7 separate regions of the Homo sapiens genome follow, and all the other regions are linked to region 5. The links are contacts of gene promoters, found by promoter capture Hi-C in blood cells and fetal thymus (Javierre and others, 2016). All regions are on one chromosome and are shown on one strand. Each heading gives the region's core, a stretch centred on a gene start or on the middle of the fragment in contact. The rest is flanking DNA. Distances are from core to core; before and after follow the strand shown.

Region 1 (3,098 bases), core at 182-2,681, 250 kb before region 5:
GGGGGCATGGGAATCAAGAAACAGGGCATTATTCTAATCTCACCAGGTAGATGATGTAACCCGAAGATGCCACTAACAATGTTGCCAACAAACGAATTCCAGGAAGCTTCTCTAATGAACCACATAGTACTTGAAATTTTACAAGTACTGTGTGTATACTCGTACTTGCTCCTCCTCCAGCCTCCCCTAATTTCAGTGAATGGCACCACCATGGACCAAAATGTGCAAGTGCCACCCCAGATTCTTGAAATCTCCACAAGCAACCAACAGTCATGTCTCAGCTTCACCTCCAAAACAGAGCCACACCTACCTCACTCCTCCCCAGGTCAACCACTAGTGTCTCCCACCTGAACTATTCTAATAGCGTCCATGCTGGCCTCCCAGCTTTCTCTATTCTGTTCTCCAGGAAAGTCCATTTTGCATACCACAGGCAAAGCAATGTTACATTTAAAAATTTAATTAGGCCGGGGCCGGTGACTCACACCTATAATCCCAGCACTTTGGGATGCTGGGGTGGGCCAATAGCTTGAGCTCCGGAGTTCGAGACCAGCCTGGGCAAGATAGTGAGATCCCATCACTACAAAAAATACAAAAATTAGCTGGGTGCGGTGGAATGTGCCTGCAGTCTCAACTATTGGGGAGGCTGAGGTAGGAGGATAGCTTGAGCCTGGAAGGTCGAGGCTGCAGTGAGCCATGATCACACCACACCACTGCACTCTAGCCTAGGGAACAGAGTAAGATTCTGTCTGCATCTCCTCCAAAAAGTAAATTAGATCACCTTCTGCTTCAAACCAATGACTTCCACTGTTGGAATAAAATCCAAGTACTGTCCTATTACCTGTAGGCCAGGTGAGATCTCACCTCATCTCCTCTCTGCTCCATCTCCTGACATGCATGTCCTGTACATGCATGGCTCCAGTTACATCCTTTCTGTCCCTTAAGCAGCCTCAGGTCCTTGGCACGTGCTGTTCCTTCTACCCAAAATGTGCCTTCCCCAGGTGTTCATGGCTGGCTCCTCCTCATCCTTCTGGATTCAGCTCTTAAGGCACCTTCTCCCCAAACCCCAAGGACACCAAGCATCTGTCCCCATCCAAACCCCACCCACTTGCAGCCTGGTCCCTCTCTAGCCTACTGATTTTTGTTTTTCATTATACCCTTATCATGACCTAAAATTATTTATTAATTCATTGCTAAATCCTCACTGGAATAAAAGTTCCATGCAGGAAAAATAAATCTTTTATGTTTTGTTCACCACTACATTTTCAGCATCTGTACCAGTGCCCAGTGCAGACTGAGCCTTCAAAACGCACTTGTTAACGACAGAGCAGTTAACTCCCCACTTTTTAGGAATGGGTTGTTCACAGCAACTCCTTTCCAATGTGTGCAGTATGAAAAGATGGAGGGAAAAAAGGGTACCTCTATAGTGGAGAAACCTGACAAATACTACTTCATCCAGGTGATCAAGGTTAATATCAACAGTAATAAGTCATGTTGCTAGCATGTACCTTTGATATGATGTGAGGAGAATAGCACTTTGCCTCTGTGGCCTTCCTCCCCAAAACACACAATTCCACTCTAATTGTAAGAAAAACATCAGACAAATCCCTATGGAGGGACAGTGCTCTTCAAAACTGTCAAGGTCATCGAAAACAAGGAAAGTCTGAGAAACTGCCACAGCCAAGTGGATTCTAAGAAGGGATGATAAGTAAACGTGATACAGTACCCTGGATAAGATCCTGGATTAAAAAAATAACTTTAGGGGAAAACTGAGGAAATCTGAGTAACATATGGACTTTAGTTAATAATGATGTATCAGGTTCATTCATTATGACAAATGTACCACATTAACATAAGATGCTAATAACAGGGGAACTGGGTGTGGGGAGCTCTCTGTACTATCTTCTCAATAATTCTGTAAATCAAAAACTGTTCTAAAATTAAAAGTTTATTTAAAAAACATTTGTTAGGTGAATGAATGTGCAGTAATAAATGCTGCACATATATTTTCAGGTCTTTTTGTAAGCATTTACTGAGCACAGGGTTTAGCATGATACTAGAAAACAGACGAATTCCTGAAGTCTGTTAAGCACTGTCTGGGTCATACCATTTGCATCATTACTTTGTGCACCTGAAACATTGTAAAGGCAGACATTGGTTCACCCGAAACTGAACCATCAGTGGTTCTAAGTGAGGAAAGTTGGGGTCAATGACAAAAATAACAAATCTTGCCCTTTTTGAGGATGAATTCAGTTATCTCACTGTTCTCAAGTCCATTCAGCCACAAGCACTGCTGAGGGCCTACTGCACACCCAAGCCTGGGTTTGGCTTAACAGCCAGCTCTTGTCCTAGAGCGGCAAACACAAATCTGGCCAAACACAAGACTCTTCTAAGGGGTCAAATGAAGCAATACAAACTATAAATGGCAAATATGTTCAGAGAAAACTGATCATGGAAGTGGGGTAGTCAAAGAGGCCTTCCTGCAGGAAGGGCCAGGCTGGACCTGAAATAGGAAACAGGATTTGGAGTGACAAGAGGAAGGACAGAGGGCACCCCAGGGTAAGCACAGAGTCCAGAATTAACTGCAGATGGTAGTCTGAGTACAGCTGTGGGGTTCCCTAGAGGGGCAATGGAAAAGGAGGTTGGTAGCTGAGCTGGGGCCAGACCAGAAAAGACCTTCCAGACCTTCAAGGTCCCCTGCTTCATGTTCCTTTTCATGTGTCATTTGCATTCTTGTCCCATCTCTCCTACTCCACCTGTAAGCTTCCTGGGGGCAAGATCTTTTCCTGCCTAATTTCTGCCTGCTCTAAAAGGTCTTGCACTTAGTAATGGCCCAAAGGAATATCTGGTGAGTGAATAAAACAGAGAATTAATCAGTGAATTATAATCTAAGAAGCCAACCTTCTACCCCTTACACACTGGGAGGCCTGCAGGGTTTGTAGAAAAATCCAGGATCAAAATGACATTTCCTCCACTATCTCCCCAACCCCTTCCTTTGCTTGTTTTCATTCAGCATTTATCTCTCTCTGACTTCTTATTAATCATTTGTGTACTTTGCATACTTGTTTCTTATCTGTCACCTTCCAGGCATTCAACAATCA
Region 2 (2,972 bases), core at 169-2,668, 220 kb after region 5:
ATTTTAGACAATAGGAAATGTATATATGACTCAATTCCAGTACTAGAATAGGTAGCTGAAAATTCTAGAAGATTCCACATTGGTTCAATAATTTTCCTTACTTGAAATTCTTCTCTTTGCTTCCACTGACATACAGCCAAACTGATTATTTTGGCTTGACTTTATATTTTATTTAAATGGGTTATTTCTGTCATTTCTGCTATCATTCTGTGTTTAAATTTAAAGGCTCAGTACTATGGAGACACATTGTAGGAACATCTATGAGGTGCTGCCAGGGCATCTATTCCCCTCCTTTCCCCTTCCATTACAGATCTACGTAGTTCTTAAAAAGCTAACACATGGCTGGGCGTGGTGGCTCACGCCTGTAATCCCAGCACTTTGGGAGGCCAAGGCGGGTGAATCACGAGGTCAGATCGAGACCATCCTGGCTAACATGGTAAAACCCCGTCTCTACTAAAAATACAAAAAATTAGCCGGGCGTGGTGGCAGGCGCCTGTAGTCCCAGCTACTCGGGAGGCTGAGGCAGGAGAATGGCGTGAACCCAGGAGGCGGAGCTTGCAGTGAGCCGAGATCACGCCGCTGCACTCCAGACTGGGAGAGAGAGTGAGACTCTGTCTCAAAAAAAAAAAAAAAAAAAAAAAAAAAAGCTAACACATGTACCACCTGAACGAAAGGTAGAACATGTGTACATAGGCTATGCCAACAGCATACTACATCCCCTTTTCTACTTTGATTAGAATAAACCTCAAGACTTGATGAAAAGTATGGAACACAGACCTCTTATTTATTCTTAAGGATATGGTGGGGAAGATGTGAGGCCTGAGACCACTGCAATTTTGCTACTATAAATTTTGCTGCCATAAATTAGGTTAAGATTCAAGAAAATATAACAATTATAAATGTATAAGCAATCAAGACCGAGCCTCAAAATAAATACATCACGCTAGGTCCAATTAGGAGAGAGAAGCCACATAGGAAAAGTTTAATATAAAGAACAGTTAACTAAAACAGGGTATTCAAGGAGGAAGAGACTGTCAAGGAAGATGTAAAAAGAATTTAAAATAATATAGGAATAGCAGGTAGAAAAGCAGCCATTACCCCTAGGGCTCAGAGTACCAACAAAGAAACTCTACATAAGCCCTCTTCCCCAGTGTTGAGATCAGACCTTGTTGGAGAGGGTACAGTCTGGGCTCACTGAAAAAGAAATCACTCTACTGCCGTGCCAGTGGTATATACTGAAAATCTGCCCTCTGGAACTTGCCAGAAATTCTCCCTCTAGGATAGCAGGGAGGCTATTTACGGGGAGGTATTTCATCAGAAGCTTCACTATAGAACCATCCAAAGAGAGGCCAGCTGGGGAAAAACACTGCAGACCACCATGTATTGCAATACCTGGCCACTTGAGAAGCTACAAGGGCTTCAGAAGCCTGGTGCTGGAAAAAGTCAAATGAATACATTGGTACCTGGAAGCAAAATCTGTTCCCCTGCAGTATTTCTTCAGGGTCCTCTAATATACAAAGCTTCAGTGCCAGGTAGAGAAAAAAAATTTAAGGGTTTAAGTCAATTTCCACAGAACAGGAAAGAAGATTGAATTTGGTTAGGTGCAATAAATTGATAACCATCAGATTATATGAAGCAAAACCTGATATTAATGAAAGAAGAAATAATTCAATAATTATAATTAGACATTTAAATACCTTTCTCTTAGTAATCAGTAAAACAACCAACCCTCCCAAAAGAATACAATCAGAATGCACAAGACTTGAACATTATCAACTTAAATGACAGAAATAGATTGACATAGATTAACACAATCAATGACAGCAAAATACAGTTGACCTTGAACCACATGTTTGAACTGCATAGGTCCATTTATACACGAATTTTCTTCTACCTCTGCTACCACTGAGACGCGAGACCAACCTCTTCTCTTTCTCTTCCTCCTCAGCCTGCTAACATGAGGATGATGATGAAGACTTTTATGATGAACTTCTACTTAATGAAGAGTAAATATATTTTCTTTTTTCATGGTTTTCTTAATAACATTTGCTTTTCTCTAGCTTACTTTATTATAAGAATATAGTATATAATATAACAAAAAATATGTTAATTGACTGCTTATGTTATTGGTAACGCTTCTGGTCAAGAATAGGTTATTAGTAGGTAAGCTTTTGGGGGAGTCAAAAGTTATACGTGGCCAGGCACGGTGGCTCATGCCTGTAATCCCAGCACTTTGTGAGGCCAAGGTGGGCGGATCACCTGAGGTCAGGAGTTCCAGACAAGACTGGGCAACATTGTGAAACCCCATGTCTACTAAAAATACAAAAATTAGCCGGGCATGGTGTCACGCACCTGTAGTCCCAGCCACTCAGGAGGCTGAGGCAGGAGAATCACTTGAACCTGAGAGATGGAGCTTGCAGTGAGCCAACATCGCACCACTGTACTCCGGCCTTGGTGACAGGGTGAGACTCCATCTCAAAACAAAAAAACATTATACATGAATTTTCGATTACATGGGGAGACGGCACCCCTAACTCCCATCTTGTTCAAAGGTCAACTGCACACAATCTTTTCAAGTGCACTGGAACATCCTCAAGATCATAGGATAGGCCACAAACAAGTCTCAATAAATGTAAAAAAGTTAAAATCCTACAAATTATGTTCTCTCACCACAACAGAATTAAATTAGAATTAACTTTAGAAAGAAATATAGGAAATCCCCAAATATTTGGAAATAAGTTATTTCAAAAGAACCCATGGTCAAAGAAGAAATCAAACCAAAAAAATTAGACAATATCTTAAAATTAATGGTAACAAAAAATAACATCAAAACTCATGAAATAGGGCAAAGTCAGTGGGAAGATGGAAATTTACACCTTTAAAAGCTTGTATTAAGCTTTGCACATTGGCAGTATCGCAGCCAATGAGATTTATCCAAGGCATGATTATTGCTAATAAAAAGCTTATATTAG
Region 3 (3,331 bases), core at 406-2,905, 190 kb before region 5:
TTCACTCTTGTCACCCAGGCTGGAGTGCAGTGCGATCTCGGTTCACTGCAACCTCCACCTTCCAGTTTCAGGCGATTCTCCTGCCTCAGCCTCCCAAGTAGCTGGGATTACAGGCACATGCTACCATGCCTGGCTAATTTTTTTTAGTAGAGACAGGGTTTCACCATGTTGGCCAGGCTGGTCTCGAACTCCTAACATTGTGATCCCCCTGCCTTGGCCTCCCAAAGTGCTGGGATTAGAGGCGTGAGCCACCACGCCTGGCCAATCTGACTCTTCACCATTCACATCACTACCTCCCAGGTCCAAGCCACTGTTGTCTCTTGCCTAGTCTGCTGCAGTGGGCTCCTAACTGGCCTCCCTGCTTCCAGCCTTTCCTACTACAAACCATTCTCTACGCAGCAGCCATGGCATCTTCTTGCCATTATAAATCAGATCATGTCCCTCCTATGCTTAAAACCCTCAAACAGATCACTCAAGCCCAGGAGTTGGAGGCTGCAGTGAGCTATTGTCGTGGTACTGCACTTTAGCCTGGGCAACAGAGCAAGATTTTGTCCCTAAAAAAAAAAAAAAAAAAAAAAAAAAAAACTCTCAAATAGCTTCCAATTACAATCTTTACCATGTCTTAAATCACCACTCTTGCCTGTCTTCCTATTGCCACATCTTCCACTCTGTCTTGTTCTCCATGATCCAGCCACAGTAGCCACTTTCCTGTTCCTTGAACAATCTAACCTTAGTCTGTCACTTTTGTCTTTGTACTCCCCTGGAAGGCTTCTTCCAGATCCTCTCAGGGCTGGCTGCTTTCATAATTCAAGCTCAAATATCACTTCTTGGAGAGGTCTTCACTGACCATTCTACAGAGTAGCCTCTGTTATATCTGCTATTCTATCGTTTTCACACTAATCATCTCTATACCAAGAAATTTTGTGTATTTGCTTCCGTATTTCTTTTCTGGTGTCTCCAGCTACAATCGAAGCTCAGTGATGGCAGAGATGATGTTGACTCTCTTTGCTGATATATCCCCAGTGCCTCTAGCACTCCTGGTGCTGAACACTTGATAGATAAATATCTTTGAATGATTGCATGGAGTGGCATCTCAGCATACAAAACTTTATGGGAGAAGGCCTTTGTGGGCTTTCTGGGTGAGCCATAAATGATGGGTAGGATTTGCATAGGCGGAGAGAATCAGAGCAGGTATCCCAGGAAGCAGGCTTGGCAGGGAGCGTGAGTTGAAGGATTGGAAGGAGAGAAGAGTACAAAAGAGAGCACCGCAGCAGCAGGGAGGCTGAGTGCCCAGCAGAGACAGAGATAAAGTTAGTTCTGCACCTAGGCCAGAGGCAGGGGTGGGGGACACAGGTGGTGGGGAAGGGGCAGGCTCTGGATGCCCTTGAAGGCCAGACAGGAAAGCTCCTTGTACCTTTTCCCTCTGCCCCCTGCCCACCTCTGCACGGTTTCCAAATCCATTCCCTGCATCTTTCTTTTTTGTAGGCATATGGTATTATTTCCAATTGAAAATGTAGATGGGAGTCACAGGAATGTATAGAGTCACATAATAAATGGAAATGAAGCTCACCTCTGCTTAGGCTGAGCAATGTACTTGCCAATAAGGGGTCCTTGCCAATACGGCTCACATAGAGAAGCCAGGGCAGGATTTGTCTGGATGGGTAGGAATAGCAAGTCATAGAATCTTTGCCCACAAATGGGCTTAAATGGAATCCAGCTACAGAATCCTTGAGTCACACACTTTCAGAACACAGTGCTCTACAGACTCGCAGAGGCCATCTGGTCCAACCTCCTATGCCCTTTGGCCTCTTGTCCAAAAGGCCATCAGTTGCTCCTGGCACACCTCCAGTGATGGAAAGCTCCCTGCTCATGTCACCGAATGGCCCTGACTCTCAGAAAGCCTTCCTTTTCTTCATATGGAAATGGATCTAGTTTCCCTAGAATTCTTCTCCCCAGACTTCTCTCTGTTTCTGGGGCTGCCCACTCTGCCCCCAGGCAGCATGGTGGACATATAATGGCAGCTGTCACATCCTCCAGGGCTTTCTGGCCAGACCCACACTCTGGGCCTTCCACTGCCTCCTCAGTGTGGCTTCTGGGCCCTCCCCATGCTGAGCACCTCCTCCAGGCTTGCCCTCCTCATCATCACTCTGCTTCCATTACTTTGAGGAACATCTTCAAAGCAGGGTGCCAGGTACCCCTGGAGGCAACTCCTACTTCGAGACCACACACATCATTGCTGGTGGGAATATACCATAGTACAGCTGCTGTGAAAAACAGTATGGCAGTTACTCAAAAACTTAAACATAGACCCAGCAATTCCGCTTTTTAGTATGTACTCCAAAGAATTAAAAGCAAGGACTCAGACACGTATTTACCAATGCTCATTGCAGTGTTATTCACAATAGTCAAAGAGTTGAAACAACCCAAATATTCATCAATGGGTAAATGGGTAAATTAATATGTGTATATACATACAATGGAATATTATTCAGCCTTAAAAAGGAAGAAAATCTATCATGTGCTACTACATGGATGAACCTTGAAAACATTATGCTAAATTAGCTAGACACAAAAGGACAAATATTGTGTGATTTCACTGTTATGAGGTACCTACAATAGGCAAATTCATGGAGACAAAAAGTAGAATAGTGGTATGTGTGTGTTGGGGGTTAGTGAACAGGGAGTTATTGTTTAATGGATACAGAGTTTCTGTTTGGAATGATGAAAATGTTCTGGAAATGGATAATGGTGATGGTTGCGCAACATTGTGAATTTTTTTTTTTTTTAAGAGACAGGATCTCACTCTGTCACCCAGGCTGGAGTGGAGTGGTGAGATCATAGCTCACTGTAGCTTCAAAATCCTGGGATCAAGTGATCCTCCCACCTTAGCCTCCTGCGTAGCTGGGACTACAGGCATGCACCACCGTGCCTTGCCTGGCTAATTTTTTTTTTAGTAGAGGTAGGGTCTTGTTATGTTGACAGGCTAGCCTTGGAACTCCTGAGCTCAAGCAATCCTCTTGCCTTAGCCTCCCAAAGTGTTGAGATTACAGATGGGAGCCCGCCTCGGCCTCCCAAAGTGCTGGGATTATAAATATGGTAAATTTTTAAAGATAGATTTACCTTAATAAAAACATTTTTTTTTTTTGAGACGGAGTCTTGCTCTGTCACCCAGGCTGAAGTGCAGTGGCGCGATCTCAGCTCACTGCAAACTCCACCTCCCGGGTTCACACCATTCTCCTGCCTCAGCCTCCTGAGTAGCTGGGACTACAAGCACCCACCCACGCCCGGCTAATTTTTTGTATTTTTAGTAGAGATGGGGTTTCACCATGTT
Region 4 (3,085 bases), core at 361-2,860, 160 kb before region 5:
CCTTGGTGTTCTCTGGGGCTGTGAGGTCTGGATGCTCTTCTCAGCCCTGGCATAGGTGGTTAAGAGGGAGTCTTATATCCCCACCTTACCCTGGGCTTCTGGGCCCGGGGAAGGGGCAGGTTGAGAAGTCAAAGCCTGTATCTTTCTCTCTTTCTTTCTGAGATCCCTAACACAGACCTGGGCATACAAATGGGGTTTGGCAGGAGGAAATGAGGCTGCATTGCACTGTATCAATTGGCCATGATGCAACCCACAAAAAAGACTGAGAACAGTTGTTCAAACACAGGCCTATAGGCCAGTGATCTTGCCTGTAGCAACCTGGGCTAGAGACTGGGGATCAAAAGCAAGGGAGGTGCTGCTGACTGTGAATATAAACAGGTTCAAGAAGGGCTTAAAGAAATTCCTAGATGACAGATCCCTAGCAGGTAACAGGTCATTAATAACCATGAAAGATGATGATGGTAATAATAATAATAATTAATAATAATAGCTTCAAGGGAGCTTTCATACTTTTAAAAGCTTTTTTCCTACCAGTGTCTCATTAGATACTCACCACTGCTTTGGGGAGGGTGTAGATGCGCAGAAAGGTGAAAGGACTTGCCTGAGGCCACACAGCTTGTTCAGGTTGTTCAGGGCAAAGCTGGCACTAGATTCAAGGGGCGTTCCTGACTCCTTCCCCAGGACTTTCTTTGAGGGTGGGGTAAACTATTGATAGGAGATATTGGGTGTGTCCTGAGCCTAGAGCCTCATTCCTGTCCTCCTCTTCCCATTTCAATGGCCCCAGTCCTGCATCATCATACGGTTCCCGTAAACCCTTCATTCTAAGGTGTTCACCGTGGACAGCAGAAATCAGCGTCCTAGCCCTGTCACTGATTTGTCATGTGACACTGAGCAACAGTCTTCTGCTCTCTTCAGTTTTCCCATTTGTGCAAGGTGATGGTTGGATATTCTGGGAAGTTAACCTTTCAGATCCACTGATTCCTCTTGGTAAAATGGGATGGTGGAAGTACCTGTCATGAGGTGTAATTGACACATGCATGTAACCAGCTTAGCAATATGCCTGGCACAGAGTGAGCACTCAACATATGTAAGTTTTGGGCAATATCTGAGAGAATAGACCCCAAGGTGAGACACTCCAGGTTGTTATAGAACAGGCTGGGGAGAGAATTGTGTCGTCTTCGGGTGGTTGGTCTGCTGTTCCCCTGCTCAAGGGTTTTCAAGCTGGGTTCTGTGGACCCTATGGGCTTCTGGGGAGTCTTCCTCAACTTTCATCTTTGCAATGGTCCCTTAAAACATTTTTGGTGATCTGTATTCTTACTAGAATCTGGAAGGGGCTATTCTGTAAGCGGAGTGAGGCTTTAGAAGTTTTGTGAGTTCACCAGATGCATCCCATCTTAACTGTGTGAGAACATTTGTTCTGAAGCTAGTTTATCTTATTCTATCCTCGCATTGTCCTGTAATTTGCTCTTGAGAGGAGCACTTGTTCTAAATGACAATCAAGGTCCCCCTTGGAGAGTGAAAGGGGCCAGTGCTGCCACCTACAGACAGAAAGGTGATTAGATTCATTTCATAAAGAGCCTGGTTAAAGAGCAGCAGAAAAAGCAAGGAGAGCTTTTGTCAACAGCCCCAAAAGTCTCCCTCACCTTATTACCCTACTATTTAAAAATCTATCATGTTTACCACTATTATCTTCAGACATCTTACATTAACAGAAATCACTGATTGCAAACCAGGATGCATATAGTGCCATTTCCATTTGGGGGGCCACCACTGGAGCCCTGAAATCACCATGGCACCTTGTATAAGAGATGAGATGATTCTGTATCCATTTATTGATTGGCTCAGTACATATTGTATCATTGCTTTAGTACTGGATCAAAATTGTGAAGGTCTTGTATCTTTGCAGAATTTGCAAAACTTTGGCTTAACAGATTCCATTGGGATGGGATAATCTAAATGTAAGTACCAAGAATTGACCAAATGGGGAATTCTTACTCTTGAGGTTTAGTGAGCTCACAGGAGTTTCCTCCAGAGTTTTCTTAGGCCAGTAGGCAGATGCAATCTGTCCAGTGTGGGGAGCCAGGAAGAGAGATCTGATCTCTGCAATTCAGGGCTCATGGTGAATTTGAGATTTACTGCCAACTTTCCTTGGCCACAGAGATTGTGAACAGGAAGTGAAACTTGGGCCAGACAGCCTGGGGGTGCAGAGCTAATATAGACTGAGGAAGGCAAACATGTATAGATCATTCGCAGGGCAACCCATGCTAAAGCATCACTACAAATCCACTTATCAAATGTTTTCTCCATTCATCAAAGGAAAAAACAGGAGCTCAGAGTGGGGAACTGCCCTGTGCAAGGCCCCCAGCAGATGGAGAATGGAGTCAGGACCAGAATCCAGGCCTTCTGACTCCTTACCATATGCTTTCCAGGGAGACTGGCCTCCTAACCCTTCATTCCCTGTAGACAACCTGACATTGCAGGTCCTTCTCCACTTCAGAGTTTATAGCTAGTTCTCTTGAAGACCCACCTGAAGTAGCAGTCATGGATACAGACACAGGACAAAGGTTCAGGAGCCCCCAGAGTTCTCTCAAACATTGTCTCTACTCAGATGCTCCTGATGCCTCCTGTTCACAGTAGGTGACCTCCTGGAATAGGGCCTGGCTCCCTACCCAAAACTCCCTTTCCTGGAGGGCTATGGAGATGAAGCTTAATCTTTAATGAACTGGCTTTCAGTTTAACGGCTCCCTTGGCAATGATTAATACCCAGTGACCTAGTCTGGCATCTAGTGAACCTGACCAGGCCTGACTCAGGAGAGTGTTGGTGGCCTTCAGGCCCAAGTGTGGGCTCATATGCAGGTGGAAGAGGCTTGACAAGTGCTGGAATGGCTTCCTACCTAAGAATATATTCTCTGTCCTGTGCCTGAAATTCTGTTATTTAGGTGGTCATTCCTCAGACGTAGGGTATCACAAATGTACCTGGCAAGAGGAGCTAGTCACATAAGTTGTGTTTCAAATACTCCTTGGGCTGTCGTTTGGCAGTTCTGGTGTCCAGCAGCTCAGAAGAATTACAGGATTCATGACTTTT
Region 5 (3,116 bases), core at 106-2,605:
CTGGCCAGTGCCTGATGTTCTGGGATAGGAGAACTGGGGAGAGAAGGCCTAGGACCCTGCCTCTCACTTTTCTTTCCACCAAAAGGGGAAAAAAGAGGATCTGGTCCTCACACCCAGCCTTGGGATACTTATAAGATGCTGGGGATAGGGTGTGGGACAGGGCCAGTGAGAGCTGGGGATGGGGTGTGGGACAGGGCCAGTGAGATCTGTTTTCCTGCTGCTCCAGTCTGGGCCCTACAGCAGATGCATGCAGAGTAATATTTGTAAGACTGAAATATTCCAAATGCAGCTACTTTGGAAGGACCATGTGAGCAGATATCTAAGTGCGTGGCATCTGGGCCCCTTGGCTAGATGGTGGTCGATGTTGGTTTCTTTGTGTTAACCCCAAGAACATTCAGTAGCTCAGGGTTTGCAGAGGTTCTCAGGAGCACATCTTAGCCTCATTGGTGGTGTGAGGCAGGCAGGGCACAGGTCACACTGATGAGGACACCCGGGCCCAGAGACATTTAGCAACCTGCCCAAGGGCATCTGTAGTTCAGTGAGAGGTGGAGCTGGGACTGAAATCTAGGCTGCCTGAGTCCCAGAGATGGTCTTCCCTGGACCCAGGGAGCACTGTATCTTTTTCAGGGAAGGCCTCCTGACCACAACCATTTCATCTGTCACAGTACAGAATAGGAAGTATGGGTCAGGCATCAGAAGATGTGAATTCTGGCTCTGCCTTTTCAGAGATGGCCCTGCCTAGTTCCTTGGAATAAATGATGATGTCTTCCCCAGCCTCAGTTTCCTACACTATATAAAAAGAGAAAGCAACATCTAGGTAGGTTGGAATGGGAGTACATGAGGTGGTGGCCACTTTGCTAGGGTCACAGTAGACTCCTCACCTCCTTCCCCTTGTCTTCCTCTCACTAGGTAAAAGACAATTGTATTGAACTCTTAAGAAAATTGGACTCCAGTCCCGGCTCCACCTTTACTTCCCTGGGCCTTGGTTTTCCCACCACACAGGAGTTTGAACACTTTGATTTCTGAAGTCCTTCCCACCTCTGGGGTTCCAATATTCTGCTCCTTTTCTCCTCTTCCTCCTCCCCCTCCTTTCTCCTCCTGCTCATCTGGGGTTAGGGAGATTGCGTGTATGTGTGTGCCTGTGTGTACACATGCATGTATGTGTGTGCACGTAGTGGCAGCAAGGAAGAGGAAGGAAGGAGTCCTGCAGGGGTTGGTGGTGGCAGTTGGGAGAAAAGGAGGCAGGACTGTATGTGCCAGCAGGGCTCAGAGTTTTCTCACCAACTAATGGTGCTTGGGGCAGTTTAATCATTAAAGGAAAGGAATGAAGCCAGGAGCGCCTCAAAGTCCAGCCTGCTGTTGACCAACACTAACAGATGAGCAAGGAGCTGGCAGCAATGGGGCCTGGAGCTTCAGGGGACGGGGTCAGGACTGAGACAGCTCCACACATAGCACTGGACTCCAGAGTTGGTCTGCACGCCTACGACATCAGCGTGGTGGTCATCTACTTTGTCTTCGTCATTGCTGTGGGGATCTGGGTAAGTGGGCCCTGAGGCTGGGGCTAGCAGGGGAGGTAGTAGTGGTCTCTCAGCTTGGGTGGGGCTGTGGAGCTGGGGCAGGGCTAGGCAGAAAGAAGCAGATCATAGAACCATGTGGCTGAGAAGGAAGGGCCTTCAGGAATCAGGCTCCTGATCTCCTCATTTTTAGAAGGGCAGAGAGGGGTGTGGCTGGTCTGAGGTCACACAGAGAGTCAGAGGCAGACCAGGCCCCCGACTCCTGACTCCTCTCTGAGCACCTGCTGCCTTTGGCCCCAACCATCCCTGGTTGCCCTGAGCCTCACTCCTTCCTTCTTCCCACCCCAAGGCCCCCAACTCTGAGAACTCTTGACCCCTGGCCCTACCTCAGTCCTGCATTCGTTAGCATCTTGGCTAAGGTGATTTCTAAATGAGAAGGGGCTCATGTGCTCTCAGGGAAGTGTGCCAGGCTTATTCCAAGGTTCCTCTGTTCTCCATTGTTCCCAGGAGCCTCAGTGCTAGAGGCAGGGGCCAGGCTTTGGGGTCAGGGAAACCTGAGTTCAGGTCCCAGCTGCAACAATGAGAGCCTCATGTCCCTGGGAACATATGAGGCCTATCAGCTTTCTCAGGTGAACAATGAGAATAAGGACTATGCTGTGATCATTCAGCAACAGGACATACTGCAGCACCTGGCACGGTGCCTGGTGCCCGATCAGCAGGCAATAAATGGCTGCTATTATCACCACGCATTCCACAGAAGTGTGAGCACCTTTAGACTCTGCTGTGATTCAAGTCCCAGATGGTCACTTCCTAGGCTGTGGCCAGGTCAGAGACCCTCTCTGAGCCTCAGTTTCCTCATCTATAAAGGGGGGTGAACAGTCCCTGCCTTCTAGTGCTGGTGTGAGGAAGAATTGGGCTAACAGATGGTCACTGGCTCCTGGAAGTGGCCAGCCGAGAAAAGCACCAACTCCTCTGTGACTTTGGACAAATTGCTTCCAATGTTGGGCCTCCATTTTCACATCTGTAAAATGGATCTGTTTTGCTCGTATGGCCTCCAAGAGGATCAGAGCTGACAAGGAAAATACAAGCAAAAGCTTAACAAGCACAAGGCCCCACACATATTTATCACTCCCTCGTGACTGATTATTTTCCCTTAGGGGAAAGTCAGAGAACTGTTGGCTTTTGCATCTGAATAGCTGCTTCAAGTTCATCCTTCCCTACCCACTGCCCTGCCCTCACCCTGTATCTCCAGAGAATATTCCAACAGGCTGCTAACTGACCACCTACTGGTGTAAGACAGGGAGGTCCTGGATGGGGCTCAGTGGCGTGATCTGATTTCAACCCAGGGCAAGGGAAACTCCAAAACAGTACCCATAACTCTACTCAGGGCTCAAAGTCTCACAGTCAAACTGCAGCCCTCTCTGTCCTCCCGCCTCCAGTGTGGGAGCTCAGCTGGGAGCAGGGAGGGGATCAGCTCAGAGAAAGGGTGAGCACTACACATCTAAGGAGGTGATAACAAATCATACTCTGAAAGCGCACTTTGGGGAGGGAAGGATAAGGGGACAAGAGTGCACAATCAATGGCTTCACACACGTGACATCC
Region 6 (3,353 bases), core at 290-2,789, 240 kb after region 5:
ATATTATTTTAAGCAAGTAGAGAGCATTTACAACAATTGGATAAGTATCAGGACACAAAGGAAATAACAAACATAATAACATAGAGACCTTGTTCACTAGCTATGATGGTTAATTTTATGTATCTACTTCACTGGGTTAAGGGATACGTGAGTAGCTGGTAAACATTATTTCTTGGTGTGTCTGTGAGGATGTTTCCATAAGAGATTAGTATTTGAATCAGCAGATTGAGTAACAAAGACCACCCTCACCAATGTGGGCAGGGATTATACCATCTGTTGAGTGCAAGGATAGAACAAAAGGTCAGATTAAGGGCAAATGTGCTCTCTCTCCTTGAGCTCGGACATCCATCTTTTCCTGCCCTGGGATAACAGAACTGCAGGTTCTCAACCCCTCAGACTCCAAGACTTACACCTGGTTCTCAGGCCTTTGTACTCAGATTGAATTACATCACCAAGCTTCCCTGGTTCTGCAGCTTGCAGACAGCTTGCAGGCAGCATATCATGGGACTGCAAAGCCGTCATCAAGTGAGCCAATCCCCATAATAAATTCCCTATTAAATAACTATATAGTATATCCTATTGGTTCTGTTTTTCTGGAGAACCCTAATACATGACCCCAATGCAATTCATTAAAATACCACAATAAAAGATAATATATATGTATATGTGTAGGTATGTATGTGTATAGGTAGGGGGGAGAGTATGAGTATGGGAGAGTGTTACACACACGTAAATCTTATGCATCTTGGAATTAAAACAAATCCTAGATAGTTCATAAGCTAAAGTAGAAATCATAATAAAAATTATAAAATATTTAGAGCCAAATGATTTTAAAACATTATCAATAGCTTTGAGATGCCAGTTAAACAGCAACTGGAAGCAAATCAAGTGCCTTAAAGGCAGATATTACAATGAGAAAAAATATTGCAAATTGCAGAGAAGTGGTAAATACAAAATTCAGGATACCGATTGGCCAAAAAGAAGAAGGAAAAAGGGATTTTATTAGGCAGAGATTTACAGGATGCTTCACCTGGATGGGTACACAGGTGTTCATTAAATGTTACTCTATAACTTCCTATATGTCTGAAATATTTCAAAATAAATGTTTTAAAAATAAGTGAAAAAAAGTAGTTGACTCATAAAGCTAAAATCTCTCTACAAATACAAATAAAAGATCCTAAATAAAAAATTAGCCAACCAAATCCAGCAAAATAGAGTAAAAACTGTACATCCTGACTTAAAAGAACTTATTACAGGAATAGGAATAGTTCAACATCAAAAAGTGTCATTTTTTTACAGACTATGAAAGCATTATTATATAATAATTTCACTGGATTAAAAAAAAACATCCCAAATAACTCAACATTCAGGATTTTTTAAAATTAGAATAGAAGGGAACTGCACTAACTCAATAAATGAAAACCCTACAGCCAATATTCTATTAGGTTCAACTACATTTGAAATGGCTGAGGTTTTTTTAAGCCAAAAAAATGGCCCATTATCAGCGATTTCATAGGATTTGGTCTAATGATGGTGAGACTTCAGAAGCATAATTTAAAATTAGAAAAAACGACAAAGATACCTACTTTGTTATCCCTAACATTAAACACTATACTAGAAATTCTAGCCATCAACATAAAGACAAGGCAAACAAAACAAAACAAAACAAAACAAAGGATTGTACTGCAAAAGTCAAAACTGTCTATTTTCAAACAACGTCATTTTCCACATAAAAAATACAACTATTGAAATAATGTTATTTCATGTTATTTAATGTTGCATCCAAAATTAAAATATAAAATGTGCAACAAAGATATATACAAGAATGCTCATAGGAGCACAATTTGTAATATCCCCAAACTAGAAACAATGAGAATGTCCATCAACAATAGGAAGAATAAATAGTGTTATATTCATTTAAGAAGGGAAAAAAGGGCTATTGCCTCATAAACCACAAGGATAAACTCCCACAAATTGGTTAGACATAAAAGAATTCAGACCATACAAAATAGACAGATCATAGATAGATATAGCTAGATTTCAAAACTTCAAAATATATTGTAAGAGAAGTCAAGATGTGGTTACCTTTGGGAGAGGAACAGGGGTAGGTGAAGTGGCGGGAGGGAGACAGCCCAATGGAGCAATCTGGGGTTCTGATAATATTCTAATTATTGGTGATTATACATTTACGATTTGTGTACTTTATGAATATATGCTATAGTTCCATAAAAAACTTAATTTAAAAAATCAATAACGCAATAAATATATACAAGTTTGTCAAGTAAAATAATCATTTTAAAAATCAATAGCATTCTTTGTTTACCAGAAACGAAAAAATTAGAAAATGAAAAACATGCAGTACTAAAAAGAGCAAAAACAAAGTAAAATATAAACTTCAACTAGACGATCTTTGAAAATTCCATTACACATAACCAATAAAGGTTTAGTATCCAAAATATATTTAACAAGAAGAAGAAAACAAGAATACACTTTTAAAGGACAAAGGATATTGGTAGTCACAGAAAAGGAAACCTCTAGGATCCAAGATTGGAGTTAAGCAGCCACAATCCAAGGAATGCCTGGAACCATCAAAAACTAGAAGAGGCAGGAAAGATTCTCCCCTAAAGCTTTTGAAAGGAGCACCGTTCTGCTGACACTTTTATTTTGTACTCTGGCCTCCAGAAATGTGAGGGAATAAATTTCTGTTGTTTTAAGCAACTACGTTTGTGATAATTTGTTATGACAGTCCTAGGAAACTAACCGGATACCCTGAGACTCAATAGTTCCATTTCTAGATCTACTCCCTAGAGCACTGGGTCACCATTCTATAAGACCCAAAATCATCCTTTTACAGAAAATATTTTCAACTTACCTATACATATAACTAAACAATAAACCAATATCCTAATTAAAGTTTGAAAAAATACAGAAATACTTTATAAGAAAATACATATTTCTAACATGTAAATGCTTGGGCAAGACTACACTGGAAGATATATTTGCACCTATACACAGAATCTATGTGAAATGGGCAGTTTCAAACGTGAGATGATAAACATCCCACACTAGCAACTCAAACACCACAAGCAGCATTGCCTCTGGTGCCATGATTTTCCAAAAAAAGTAAACTCTTAGCAGAGCACCAAACCCAACAAAGTGTACTCTTTCCTCAATTTACATGGCAATTGCATTACTGTAAAATGCGTTTTAAAAACCTTTTAAAAAGACTTTGTGTTTATAAATAAACAGATAATTGATTATCAACTGCTATTATGTTATTAACCTCCAGTAATTATAAACAGGTTTTTCATCTACATATTCAATGAGACATTCAAGTCATGCAGGATACCGAA
Region 7 (2,995 bases), core at 98-2,597, 210 kb before region 5:
TGCAAATATTTTCTCATGGCTTGTGTTTTTATTTTCTTAACGGTGTCTTTTGGACAGCAAATATTTTAATTTTGAAGAAATCCAAATTATCAATGGTCTTCTTTAATAATTTGTTCATTTTTTCTTCTGTTTAAAAAATCTTGGCCTAACCCAAGGTCACTAAGATTTTCTCTCCTTTGTTTTATTCTAGAATTTTTATAGTTTTAGGTTTTCCACTTCGGTCAGTGATCAGTTTTTACTTGGACCTTGTATGAGTTGTGAGATAAGGACCACGGGCAAGGGTGCCGCTGCTTCTTTTCCTCTTCGTCCTACTACTCCCTCCACCTCTCCCCTTGTTCCTCTTCCTTCTCCTCTTCCTCATCTCCTTCTTTTCTTTCCTCCTCCTTCTCACCTTCTTTTCCCCACTTCTTCCTCTTTCTTCTCATCTTCCTCCTCGTCATTCCCCCTTCCTTTTCTTTCTCTCTCTCTTTTCCTTTTTGCTAATGGATATATCTATGTCCCAACACCATTTGCTTTTTTTGTTTTTTTCACAGCATCTGGAAAAAAAATCTTTAATTTCCCTCTTTCTACAGCCCCTTGTAGCCTGGGAACAAAGACCATCAATTCTGAGATTTGTGAGGCAAATCTAGACCCTTCATTGGTTGCCTATATTTTGGATGAGTGGAGAATTCCATCCGTCGGGGCATTTGCTGCATCACAGCAGTTGCTGAATTTTCTTTAGGCAACAGAAGAACACTGTCTACCAAAGCTGGCAGTCCCTGAATAGCCTGAGTCCAGGGGAAACAGAGATGGATCTTCTGGTCACTTGGGAGTGAACTCGGCGTGGAATCTGTAACAGTGGATATGATGTAAGTCATTGGTGGGCTGGGTGATTACAAGCTTTGCTTTCACTTGAAGGTTAAGGGGATTCAGCACCCCATGATGTTTTAGTTTACTACATATTTGCCTGACAACATTTATTGAAAGATTACCCTTTCTGTATAGAATTGCCTTGGTACCTTTATCAAAAATCAATTATCATTTTTGTGTGAGTCTGTTTTTGGACTCTGTTCTGTGCCATTGGTAGATATATCTACATTTACAGCAACATCACACTGTATTACTATAGTTTTATACTTAGTCATGAAACCAGGTATTAAGTCTCTAATTTTGTTCTTCATCTTTGATATAGTTTGGACATTTGTCCCTGTGTAAATCTTGAGTTGAATTATAATCCCTAATGTTGGAGGTAGGACCTGGTGGGAGGCGTTCGGATCATGGGGGCTGATCTCTCAATAATGGCTTGGGCCATCCCCTTGGTGATAGGAGAGCTCTCGCTCTGAGTTCACATGAGATCTGGTCATTTAAAAGCATATGGTACCTCCCTTCTACTCTCTCTCTCTTTCTCTCTCTCTTACTCCTGCTTTCACTATGTGAAGTGCCTGCTCCTGCTTCACCTTCCTCCATGAGTGAAAGCTCCCTGAGGCCTCTCCACAAGCAGATGCCTGTATGCTTTCTGTACTGCCTGCAGAACTGTGAGCCAGTTGAACCTCTTTTCTTATAAATTACCCAGTCTCAGGTATTGCTTTATAGCATTTGTTTGGCTATCAAATTATTTGTATTTTCATATAAATTTTAAAATCAACTTTCTGCAAAAAGTCTCCTGGGATTTTGATAGATATGGTCATGATCTCTAGATCAATCAGGGGAGAATTTACATCTTAATAATATTGAGTCTTATAATCCATAGGCATGGTTTATCTCTGTTTAGATTTTCTGAAACTTCTCTCAGCAATATTTTGAGTTATTCAGTGTACATATCTGTACACCTTTCGTAAAAGCTTTTCCAAAGCATTTCATGATTTTTAATGCTCTTAGAAATAGTATTTAAAATTTTTCAACTTACAACAATTCCTTGAAAGTATGTAAAATACAGTTAAAAGTTGTATGTTATTCTTGGTTTCTATAACCTTGCATTTTCTGCATCTGTTGAAATGATCAAATGGATCTGTAAATAAATCCCCTCTTCTTACTCTTGCTGCTAGTAATCTGACTCTTCTATTTTTTGTTTTTCCTGGTCAATCTGGTCAGAGGTTTATCAAATTTATATCTTCCCAAATAACAAGCTTGGGCTTTACTGATGTTCTCCATAATTTTTCTCCATTCTATTTCCCCGTTTTCTGTTTTAATTTTCGTAATTTCCTTCCTTTTCTGCTTGCTTTGGTTTTAGTTTTCCCTCCTTGTTCTCAAGTTTTAAGATGTAAACTCAGGTCATTAATTATCCTTTCTTTATTTCTAATATATGCCTTTAATTCTACATATTTTTCTTTATCTGCATTTCATAGATTTTGGTATTTGTTTTTTCATTTTGATTTAATTAAAAATACTTTGTAATTTCATTTCTGATTTCTTCTTTGTCCCATGGGCTATTTAGAAATGCATTGTTTAATTTGCAAATTATTGGTTGTGTTCCAGATTTCTTCCTGTTATTCATTTCTAATTTAATTATCTTGTAGTCAGAGAACATACTTTGTATGATTTTTATCTTTTTGAATTTATTGAGACTTGTCCTATGGCACTGAATAAGATTTATCTTAATAGATGTTCTGTGGACCCATGAAAAGAATGTTTATCTGTTGTTTGGTGAAATGTTCTACAAATGCCAATGACATCAAGTTGATTATAATGTTTTTCAGGTTATCTTAATCTTATTTTTTGTCTACCTAGTCTATCAATTATTAAGAGAGGAGTGTTGAAGTCCCAAGTATGATTCTGGAGTTGTCTATTTTTCCTTTCGCTTCTGTGAGTTTTTGCTTCATGTTCTTAGAAACTCTACTATTAGATACATATACATTTTGGTCATGTCCTCTTGATTAATTGAACCCTTCATCATTATGAAATGACCTTTTTTATCTATGGCAAGATTTCTTGCTCTGAAGTCTATTTTGTCTGATATTAATAAATCTATAACCACTTTATTTAGATTAGTGTTAGCATCGTATATCTTTTTTCCATG

The links. Contacts are between HindIII fragments. The CHiCAGO score rates a contact against its expected background, and 5 or more counts as called.
Region 1: a fragment that was not itself captured here is called in contact with the fragment with the promoter of SLC5A9 in region 5 in 1 of 17 cell types (neutrophils); the score reaches 5.0 in neutrophils.
Region 2: a fragment that was not itself captured here is called in contact with the fragment with the promoter of SLC5A9 in region 5 in 1 of 17 cell types (neutrophils); the score reaches 5.0 in neutrophils.
Region 3: a fragment that was not itself captured here is called in contact with the fragment with the promoter of SLC5A9 in region 5 in 1 of 17 cell types (neutrophils); the score reaches 5.0 in neutrophils.
Region 4: a fragment that was not itself captured here is called in contact with the fragment with the promoter of SLC5A9 in region 5 in 1 of 17 cell types (monocytes); the score reaches 5.1 in monocytes.
Region 6: a fragment that was not itself captured here is called in contact with the fragment with the promoter of SLC5A9 in region 5 in 2 of 17 cell types (neutrophils and monocytes); the score reaches 9.4 in neutrophils.
Region 7: a fragment that was not itself captured here is called in contact with the fragment with the promoter of SLC5A9 in region 5 in 2 of 17 cell types (monocytes and neutrophils); the score reaches 5.7 in monocytes.

The regions. Positions count from the first base shown.
Region 1 is chr1:47,973,360-47,976,457 of GRCh38, forward strand. The region is part of intron 2 of TRABD2B (TraB domain containing 2B); the gene reads right to left. Among named protein-coding and RNA genes, the nearest start is that of TRABD2B, 22 kb to the right of the region's middle. The HindIII fragment of the contact is 2,654 bases long and covers 105-2,758 here.
Region 2 is chr1:48,445,042-48,448,013 of GRCh38, forward strand. The region is part of intron 3 of SPATA6 (spermatogenesis associated 6); the gene reads right to left. It also overlaps the pseudogene RNU4-61P. Among named protein-coding and RNA genes, the nearest start is that of SPATA6, 26 kb to the right of the region's middle. The HindIII fragment of the contact is 199 bases long and covers 1,320-1,518 here.
Region 3 is chr1:48,029,085-48,032,415 of GRCh38, forward strand. No RefSeq gene overlaps it. Among named protein-coding and RNA genes, the nearest start is that of LINC02794, 19 kb to the right of the region's middle. The HindIII fragment of the contact is 7,414 bases long and covers 1-3,331 here.
Region 4 is chr1:48,059,832-48,062,916 of GRCh38, forward strand. The region is part of intron 4 of LINC02794 (long intergenic non-protein coding RNA 2794); the gene reads left to right. Among named protein-coding and RNA genes, the nearest start is that of LINC02794, 12 kb to the left of the region's middle. RefSeq lists an enhancer at 1,210-1,754. The HindIII fragment of the contact is 2,187 bases long and covers 518-2,704 here.
Region 5 is chr1:48,221,361-48,224,476 of GRCh38, forward strand. SLC5A9 (solute carrier family 5 member 9) reads left to right here and starts at 1,356. Exons shown (of 14, transcript NM_001011547.3): 1 at 1,356-1,538. The coding sequence starts at 1,377. The HindIII fragment of the contact is 4,425 bases long and covers 1-2,606 here.
Region 6 is chr1:48,462,662-48,466,014 of GRCh38, forward strand. The region is part of intron 1 of SPATA6 (spermatogenesis associated 6); the gene reads right to left. Among named protein-coding and RNA genes, the nearest start is that of SPATA6, 7.9 kb to the right of the region's middle. The HindIII fragment of the contact is 2,171 bases long and covers 455-2,625 here.
Region 7 is chr1:48,010,958-48,013,952 of GRCh38, forward strand. No RefSeq gene overlaps it. Among named protein-coding and RNA genes, the nearest start is that of TRABD2B, 15 kb to the left of the region's middle. The HindIII fragment of the contact is 941 bases long and covers 878-1,818 here.